Regions from separate parts of the Homo sapiens genome. Here regions 2 and 3 are each linked to region 1. Evidence: promoter capture Hi-C in human tissues and cell types (Jung and others, 2019). All regions are on one chromosome and are shown on one strand. Each heading gives the region's core, a stretch centred on a gene start or on the middle of the fragment in contact. The rest is flanking DNA. Distances are from core to core; before and after follow the strand shown. Region 1 holds the start of CDADC1 (cytidine and dCMP deaminase domain containing 1). Region 2 overlaps CAB39L (calcium binding protein 39 like). Region 3 overlaps FNDC3A (fibronectin type III domain containing 3A).

What was found. Contacts are between HindIII fragments. The study calls those that stand out against the background at their distance.
Region 2: a fragment that was not itself captured here is called in contact with the fragment with the promoter of CDADC1 in region 1 in 1 of the 25 tissues and cell types used here (aorta).
Region 3: a fragment that was not itself captured here is called in contact with the fragment with the promoter of CDADC1 in region 1 in 1 of the 25 tissues and cell types used here (lymphoblastoid cells).

The regions. Positions count from the first base shown.
Region 1 is chr13:49,246,323-49,249,411 of GRCh38, forward strand. It overlaps CDADC1 (cytidine and dCMP deaminase domain containing 1), which reads left to right and starts at 1,603. Exons shown (of 10, transcript NM_030911.4): 1 at 1,603-1,797; 2 at 2,549-2,643. The coding sequence starts at 1,716. LOC105370203 (a long non-coding RNA gene) reads right to left here and starts at 1,518. Exons shown (of 2, transcript NR_135318.1): 1 at 1,313-1,518. RefSeq lists enhancers at 1,464-2,026, 1,496-1,725. The HindIII fragment of the contact is 6,098 bases long and covers 1-2,909 here.
Region 2 is chr13:49,426,692-49,429,780 of GRCh38, forward strand. The region is part of intron 3 of CAB39L (calcium binding protein 39 like); the gene reads right to left. Among named protein-coding and RNA genes, the nearest start is that of CAB39L, 16 kb to the right of the region's middle. The HindIII fragment of the contact is 4,830 bases long and covers 1-3,089 here.
Region 3 is chr13:49,109,201-49,112,289 of GRCh38, forward strand. All of the region lies in intron 3 of FNDC3A (fibronectin type III domain containing 3A), which reads left to right. Among named protein-coding and RNA genes, the nearest start is that of MLNR, 110 kb to the right of the region's middle. The HindIII fragment of the contact is 6,783 bases long and covers 1-3,089 here.

The DNA of each region.
Region 1 (3,089 bases), core at 353-2,852:
AAATAAAGCCACCATGACATTCATGTACAGAGTTTTGTTTGAACATAAGTTTTGGTTTGTCTAGGATAAATACCCAGGAGTGTGATTGCTGGGTGATATGATAAGCATATGTGCAACTTTATAAGAAACTGTCAAACTGTTTTCTAGAGTGGTTATGCCATTTTATAGTCCTACCAGCAATGTTTGAGAGATCCGGTTGCTCTGCATCCTCACTAGCATTTAGTGCTGTCAGTACTTGTTATTTTAGCCATTTAAATAGGTGTGTAGTAGAATCTCATTGTGGTTTTAATATACATTTCCCTAATGGCCAATGACACTGAACACTGTTTTACATGTTTATTTGCCATCTGTATATCTTCTTTGGTGAAATGACTATTCAAGTCTTTGATCCATTTTCTAACTGGACTGTTTACTTACTCTGAGTTTATATGGTTCTTTATATATTCTGGATATGAGTCCTTTGTTGGATACATGCTTTGCAAATATTTTCTCCTAGTCCATGGCCTGTCTTTAAACCTTAGTGTTAATTGCCATGAAGGCACTGTCAACAAAGTCTACACTTCAGGAAAGGTGCAGAATGGAGTTCTCTGGATATAGTCAAATCACCTGAAGAGCTTTACCCTCAGAACAGGCGAACTAGAAAAAATTCTACAAGCCAAAGAAATAAATAGCAAGCTGAAAGATAGATCTGAAGAAATTAGCCAGAATGTGGCTCAGAGAAACAAAATGATGCAATATTTTAAAAATAATAATTTAGAACCTCAGAAGGTTTAACCTATGCCTAATAGGAATTCCAGGAGGAGAGTCTAGAGTAATGTTGTCCAATACAGTAGTAGCCAATAGCCACATGTCACTACTTAAAATGTAAATTAATTAAAACTAAATGAAGTTAAAAATGCAGTTCCTTGGTTGTACTGGCCACATTTCAGATGCTCAATAGCCACATGTGGCTGGTGGCTACCATATTGGACAGTGCAGATATAGAATACTACAGGAAATCCTACTGGACAGTGCTGATCTAGGTCATAAAACAAGTCTGAACAAATTTCAAAGAACTGGTATGATACAGATGTTTTGTGGAAATAAACTAGACATTAGAAATTAAAAACAAAATAACTCCTACTGCCTCCTCTCACCTTTTTCCCCATTACAATTCCACCTCTTAATGTCTTCATGTTCTTGATGAGAAGCAGAACGTCCCTACTGTGTTCCATGGCACCAAGTTCCCCAGAACCCGCCAGTCTCTGATGACAGAACATCCTGGACCGCCCAGCTCCACACCCCAACCCAAGAAGTTCTCTAAAACACTGACCATGACAGCCTGGGGTAGGTTTCCACTTTAACATTCTGACCAAAATTCTCAACTCGATGCAGTCAGAGTCTGCGCAACCTGGGACCTCGAGCCAAGAAATCCTCAAGTGACCTTACTTGGCAAAACCAACAAAACAACCAAATACAGGTCTCAAGCGATTTACAGCTCGGTGCTTAACTCGGTCACCGGCCGAGGGGCAGCCCTCTGGCGCCAAAGCCCCGCCTCTCTATGACGTCACACGAGGAGCCCTGAAGTGGCGGTCAAGCTTGAGGCGTCATCTGGCTGCGCCTAGTGGGCCGTTGCCTTACAGTTGCTGAGAGGAGGCGAGAGGCGGGGGCGCTAGGGCCGAGATCATGTCTGACTGGGAGAGGTTTCCTTGGCAGCAGAGGACGCTAGGTTTGGGATGAAAGAAGCTGGGCAGATGCAAAATCTGGAGAGCGCGAGGGCCGGGCGGTCAGTCAGCACCCAGACTGGCAGCATGACCGGTGAGTGTCCGGGACCCTGCTCCCGCCACCCTACCTTTCGCTCTGCCCTGTGCGTCTCCCGTCATTGAACTCCAGATTCCTTGTCTGAGCCTCTTTGCCTCCCCTGCTGCTTTTGGATGTCTCCTGCCCGCCCTCTGCGTGTCCCCTCCGCGGTCGCCAGGACCAATCGGCTCGGTCGCACTGGCTTTTGAAGTCTCGCTTTTTACCCCTGTTAGCTACTTCTCACAGGACCTAGAGCTGGGGCCTCTGAGGTCAAAGAGCCTGAACATTTCCAAACGGCGCTTTTGCCTTGATTTCCAAATTAACCGCACGTGACGCTTTCCTGTATTTCGACTGCTTTACCGTCGAAGGTCAGCGCATTTTTCGGGTTGTGTTCTAATCGCTTTCCTTTTAGCAACGCCCCATCACAGTCCAAAGAAAAGCTTGCACCACGACGACGTCAGATGCGAAGACTTTTCACAGCTTGCTTTGGGTTGTCCCCCTCAGCTATGTGTATTAGCTGTACCGTTTTTTCCTGCAGGGTGAGGGCTGGAGAAAGAAGGCTCAACTTTTTAAGTGGAGAAGGAGGTAGCCACGACTAAGGCTGAAGCGTCTACTGCTAAGATACCTCTGACTCTCTTGTCCCCTATCTTTTTCTGTGCCTCTTGCGAAAGCAGCTGGGCTTAGGCTGCAGCACCTAAGTGGCATTGAGATTGGCTCCCTTTTTCACCATTAGTAACAAAGTTTAAAGTGTTTGTCGTCTCTTTTGTAGGTCAGATACCAAGGCTTTCTAAAGTCAACCTTTTCACTCTGCTCAGCCTCTGGATGGAGCTCTTTCCAGCAGAAGCCCAGCGGCAAAAATCTCAGGTATAATTTGTTTCATAGTTTTTCCCCTTAGAAAAGCAGTGGTTTAAAATCTGAGTTTATTGCTCCAGTTTCTGTCATACCTAAAACCAAACTTAACAAGGCTTAAGATTTAAAAAATATCTTTATTGATTAACATGACACTTTATAATTCCCAGCCGTAATAAGTCATCTTCCATTCTAAAAATACTTTCTGAGAATACCATGTTTATCGGGTACTAATGGTATTCATATGTCAGTTCGGCTAATAAGATTATTGTCTATACCACATAATTTCCCCCAATTATATATACTGTTGGTGTTTTATCTAGGTAGTTTACTCCTCTGCCACAGAAATATATAAATTGCCTGGAGATAGAGACCATGTCTTATTTTACCTAGCATATACCCTTTAGAGTCTAGCATTATATGAGTGCTAATTGATTAATGTTGGATGGAAGTAGTCTCTT
Region 2 (3,089 bases), core at 181-2,680, 180 kb after region 1:
TGGGATTACAGGAGTGAGCCACCGCGCCCAGCCAATTTATTGCTCTTTATTGAAGATTTTCTATGAGCTGGGATTCTAAACCACTCTAAGCCACTCTTGAGTTACTTTTCTCTCATGTGAACTGCACTGCAGCATTACTATACGTGTTTGTTTCTCTCTTGTTCATCTGTTTTTTGCTGCAGGAGTCTGTCCCAACTACGAACTTATGAAGGTTGAGGAAAATTATTATTTCTCCCTTTCACTTAGAAGAAGCCATTTCTTAATTTAGCATCATTTACTGTTTGGAGAGGCTGACATGGTCAAAACTATCAAGTCTCAGCACCTTCAGGTTTATCAATCCTTTCTTTAGCATACTTGCTCCTGTCACTCTTTAGGCACAAACCAGGTGGCACCTTCAAGTCTAGTTGGAAATCTTCTTAGCTACGGTACTCAGTTCATTATGTGCATTCTAGTTTCTACATTACTACAGGTGACAGTGTTGCATTATAAAGCTTATGCTACTATATTAGAAGGATCCCCTTTCCTCCAGTTTCTAAAAAGATTCTCCCATTTTCCTTTAAGCCCTTCCTGGCAACCTCACCAAAAAAACATGAGTCTACAGTTTCTCCAAGATACTTTAGATTTACACTGACAGTGTCTTCAATGTCCATTCACCTTTCATCCACTACGAAGTTCCAAAGCCATGCCCACTTAAAATATTTGTTGCTGGGCACCATGGCTCATATGGGATTGTTCCCAAAGCAATCCCAGCACTTTGGGAGGCCAAGCAGGAGGATCACTTAAGCCTAGGAGTTTGAGACCACCCTGGGCAACACAGTAAGACCATATCTCTACAAGAAATAAAAGAATTAGCTGGGCGTGGTGGTGCACACTTGTAATCCCAGCTACTTGGGAGACTGATATGGGAAGACTGCTTTAGCCCAGGAGGTCAAGTCTGCAGTGAGCTGTGATAGCATCACTGCACTCCAGCCTGGGCAACAGAGCAAGACCCTAGCTCAAAAAAAAATTGTTGACATCACTTATCTTACTTCATTTGAACTGCTATATCAGAATAACATAGATGGGTGGCTTATAAACAATATAAATTTATTTCTCACAGTTCAGGAGGTTGGGAAGCCCAAGATGAAGGTGTCAGCAGATTCAGGGTCCAGTGAGGGCCCACTTCCTGGTTCACAGATGGCCATCTTTTCGCTGTATCCTCACATAGTGGAAGGCGAAACAAGCTCTCTCAGGACTCTTACAAGGACACTAATCTTATTCATGACAGCTACACCCTAATGACTTGATCACCTCCTAAAGGCCCCATGTCCAAATACCATCTCATTAGGGATTAAGTTTCAACATAGGAATTTTGTGGGGACACAATCAGTCTACTGCATCAATCAACCTCTAGTGCCAGTATCAAATTAGTTGTCTACTGTGTAACAATTATCCAAAACTTGTAAGCTTAAAACACATAGCTTAAGATCTATTATTTCACATAGTTTCTGAGAGTCAGGAATCCAGGAGTAGTTAGCTCAATGGTTCTGACTCAAATGTCAGCCTCAGGCAGGAATGCAATCATCATGAAGTTTGACTGGAGCTGGAAGGACTACTGGCTACTGGCTAGAGGCTTTGGTTCTTTGCTGTTTGGGCCTCTCCATAGGGATGCTCACTTGACTAGCTTCTCCCAGAGCAAGTGATCAGCAAAAGCGTGATAAAGATGGAAACTGCAATGTCTTTAATAATCTAATCTTAAAATTAACATTCTGCTGTTTTTTATTGGTCACACAGACCAGTCTTGGCACAGTATGGAAGAAGAATGAATCCACAGGGCGCAAATACCAGCAGGTGGTGGGGGCCATCTTGGAGGCTGGCTGCTGCAGTGGCTTGGCAATTCCAGGCAGAGTCTCATTTACAACACCCAAATAAGGAAGGAAAGAAACAGGGAGGGAAAGGGGGAACTTCTTCACATAACTTCTCTTTTCTTAGGGGGAAAATATTGTTCAGGGAGCTCTCCAATAAACTTCTATATCTCTTTGGCCTGAAGAGAATAAAACAGTTACCCACTAAGTGCCAAGGAGCCTAGAAAAATAAGTATGTGGCATTTTTTGCCTCAATCATAAAAAGAAAGCAGGAAAGTAGGAGGTTGGTATGACTTTTGCATAGACAACGGTCTACCACAAAAGTTAAGTAAAAAGCATAGCAAAGATAAACAAGTCAATGATTACAATCACATATTTTGAATATATATTTCTAAATTCCAGAAATTAAATGGTTTACTTCAAAGATGTCTGAAAATTTGTTTTTAAGTTGATATAAATGTAAACAAAAAATGCTAAATTAATATTCCTCACTATAATTATATAGCATTTTATAATATCCAGACTGTTCATATGTATTCTTTACAATAGCCTTGAAAGAAAACTAAAGCAAATATTATTATGTTAGCCCCACTTTACAGATAAGAAACATGAATCAATGGTATGACCATAGCTCACTGCAGCCTTCAACTCCCAGACTAGAGTGATGCTCCTGCTTCAACCTTCCTAGTAGCTGGCCCTACAGGCATGCCACCATACTGGCTAATTTTTAAAATTTTTTTAGAGATGAGGTCTTATTATGTTGCCCAAGCTGCTCTTGAATTCCTGACCTCAAGCGGTCCTCCTGCCTCAGCCTCTCAAATAGCTGAAATTACAGGCATGAGTCACTGCACCCAGCAAAAAATTATCATTTTTGACAACACTAATACTACAGTAATTTGCTTAACCCTCTATCACTGACATTAGGTTATTTCCCATTTGTCACTCTCATAGTCAATCCTATCAAAATATTTTCATGCATTATTTTTCCCTCCTTACTTAGTTTATTTTATTAGGAAAAAATACCACAAATTGGCTGACTGGGTCAAAACATACATACATTTTTTAGAACCTTGCTATATGCTGATTTCTAAAAGCAATTTAATATAGTTTAGTTAACTAAAGATGCTACCAGCATGAGTATACCATGAGGTTCACCAAAACCTCACCATCCCCAAGTACCTCGTTGAATTCTTGCTTATTTAGAATGAAATAAAATGTTCTCTTATAGTTTTAATTTGCATTTAT
Region 3 (3,089 bases), core at 232-2,731, 140 kb before region 1:
TTTTGAAAACATGGTGATCATACTTTTACATATTATAACTATTTACTGAGTATCATCAACCAATATACTTGATACTTTAAATTTATTTAATTTCATTCTCACAACAATGCTATGATGTTGATTAACCTTGTCACTGAAATAAGCTAAGACTTCAGAGAAGAGCAGTAAATTGCCTTGCTAATAAATACTGAAGCTGTTATTAAAATATATCTTTTAATACCAAAATTCACTTTCTTTCCACTGTACAACTTGTTACAAACCACTGTCATTATCATTACCTGTATATTTTTGTTAGCTGTTAATAAATTTCCTCTGAAGTTACATAGCACCATAAAGTAATGAAAGATCTCCAAAAGTTCTTATTCTTTCCTGTTGTAACTGGACATCTTTGGTCTCCTTTCTGGTCTCTACTTGTTCTTGGATAGAGAACTCTGAACCTGCACCTGAGGCTGTCTTTTCAGATTCGTGGATATGAGTAAGAATGCCATCTACTGAGCACCTGCACTTTAATTTAAATCTTAAATTTAAAAAAATCAGAAAGAAAATAAAACCAATAATGAAAGTGGTAGTCTTTATTCTCTTAAGAGGCAAATAACAGCCTGAAACATAAATCCCACCTTTGAGACACATGTCTATCAAACCTATATTCTATACACAATTATTTGTGTATTGTGGATATTCCTTAAGGATTGAGTATGGAGAATTACGTTATACAATGACATTTCAGACTGAATCTTTTAAATTAATATTATCTCAAATGTTCTAAATGAAAATTAGCGGCAGGCTGCATGAGTAAAAAATTAGAAGATAGCACCTGTGGTGTTATTGAACACAAAGAGAATCATTGTACATCAAATATATATTTCTGAAAAGTATACTTTGATGAGCTTTTGAATTGGTTCATAAGGAAGTCTGAAAGATGGTCAAATTCAGGGCAGCAGCAGTAGAAATCATTTAATCTTTTTTTTCCCCTATATCAGAAATGCTGCAAGCGGGAACGTTTGCTTTTTTTTCCCCCTTGCCCTTTCCTGGGTCACTGCAGGTCACGTGATGACTGTCACGTGACTCGGTCAAAGGATCTTTTCCTCTTACAGCCTTGCAAAAAAAAAAAAAGCCGTTCTCCAATTAAAGCTGTTAACGTGTACTACGCTGTTTCCTTGTTGGATTTTCTTGTTCTCTGCTGCTACTGTAAAAACGAAATGAGTGGTAAGATTTGCTGTTTTCGAACATTCTGCTTTTATTTTAAGACAGAAAGCATTGTATTAATCTAAAGTCATGCCGTGTGTTTTTAAAAATAGATGCTAAATATCATCGCCATAAAATATTTTAAATTGTTGCCATGTAAATACAAAAAGGTTAGACTATGTAGAGTTATTTTGTAATTTTGTATTCCACGGAATATTCCATTCTAGGATCTTTATTTTACTAGGTTTTTCTTCTAGAGCTAAAATCTGAAAATTGGCATCAGATTATTTGGAAGCCATTGTGAACGCTGGCTTATAGAGAATGTGTAGCACAGCGGCAGCACGTTGCATTTTAAGAATTAAAACTCCTGGACAAATTTGTAATTTTATTTAAAAAAAACCTCTTAAATATGAATGTATATTAACAAGGAAAGATAAAGAAGAATTTAAGTTATACTAGTTGAAATATCTTCTTTAAGTCAGTGATGGCACTTTTTAAGAAGCAGGGGTGGGGAGCTTCTCAAATTTCTTAAGACAATTGGTTAGAATTGTTTACTCTTCTGCAGGTTTTTGAAATAGGAAATGTATCCTTAATAGCTCCATGATTGGGGTAAATCATGCTCAAATCACATAGATTATAAAGGAGCTGCTAAGTGTATGCACAGTTGTTGTCAGGTATTGCTACTCTTGTGCCAGGCATACATTTGTCAATAGGATCTGAGTTTCTTCCTTGGGACAAAATCTCCCTCATTGCATACAAATTTAAGTCAGTTTGTAGTTAATTTTCTGTTACTTTCTAAATTAAAAAGTATTGTTGGAACTAAGGAGCTAATCAAACATTTACATCATTAAATATGCAAGGCTTTAAGGTTTCGCTACTATAGACACAGGAGTAACAACAGACATGAGATGCTGTAAACGTTGTAGTTCTAAACATCGATACTTGTATTTATTATGTTTATACAATAGGGGTTTGCATTCAGTGTTGAATGTTACTTCACAGCAATATTTTAGGCATTAAATATGATACCGATAAATTGTCTTTTTAAAAGAAAATCTGGCCGGGCATGGTGGCTCACACCTGTAATCCTAGCACTTTGGGAGCCCGAGGCAGGTGGATCACCTGAGGTTAGGAGTTCAAGACCAGCCTGGCCAACATGGTGAAACCCCGTCTCTACTAAAAATACAAAAATTAGCCGGGCGTGGTGGCACATGCATGTAATCCCAGCTACTCGGGAGGCTGAAGCAGAAGAATCACTTGAACCCAGGAGGAAGAGGTTGCATTGAGCTGAGATAGCGCCACTGCACTCCAGCCTGGGCAACAGAGTAAAACTCCGTCTCAAAAAAAAAAAAAAAAAATCTAACCATGTACAATTTCTGCCTCAGGATAAAAAAAAAATTTTTTTGCTAGAGTGAAAGGATTACTTCGTAAAGAAGTAAGTTAATCAGTCTTTTTCCTGGACTACATCTAGTAATATATTTACTACTGGTTTATTTTAGCTTACATTTCTCTTTTCAGCATCACACTTAGATATAATTAAAAAACAAAGTAGAATCTTGTATTACCAAATTATAAACTATTTTAGCGGCTATCAAAGTATAAAATGGTTTGAATTGTAACTACATATATATTCGTATTTCTGGTAAAAGGAGGGCCACTTGAAGCAATTGTGTGATTTTACTATTTTAAATGTAATTAGCAATAACTTATTATTCTGATGGCAAAAGAAAAACCTATTCTGATGACTTGATGTAAGGATTAAATTTGACAGCATATAAAAGGACCCACAGTAAAAGTGCAATGCTAATGGCCTTTATTAACATTATAAAATATGATTTTCAGTGAATTCTCTGTCAAGTTCTCAGCTGAATTTCACATATTGTAAGTAATACCTAAGCCACCTG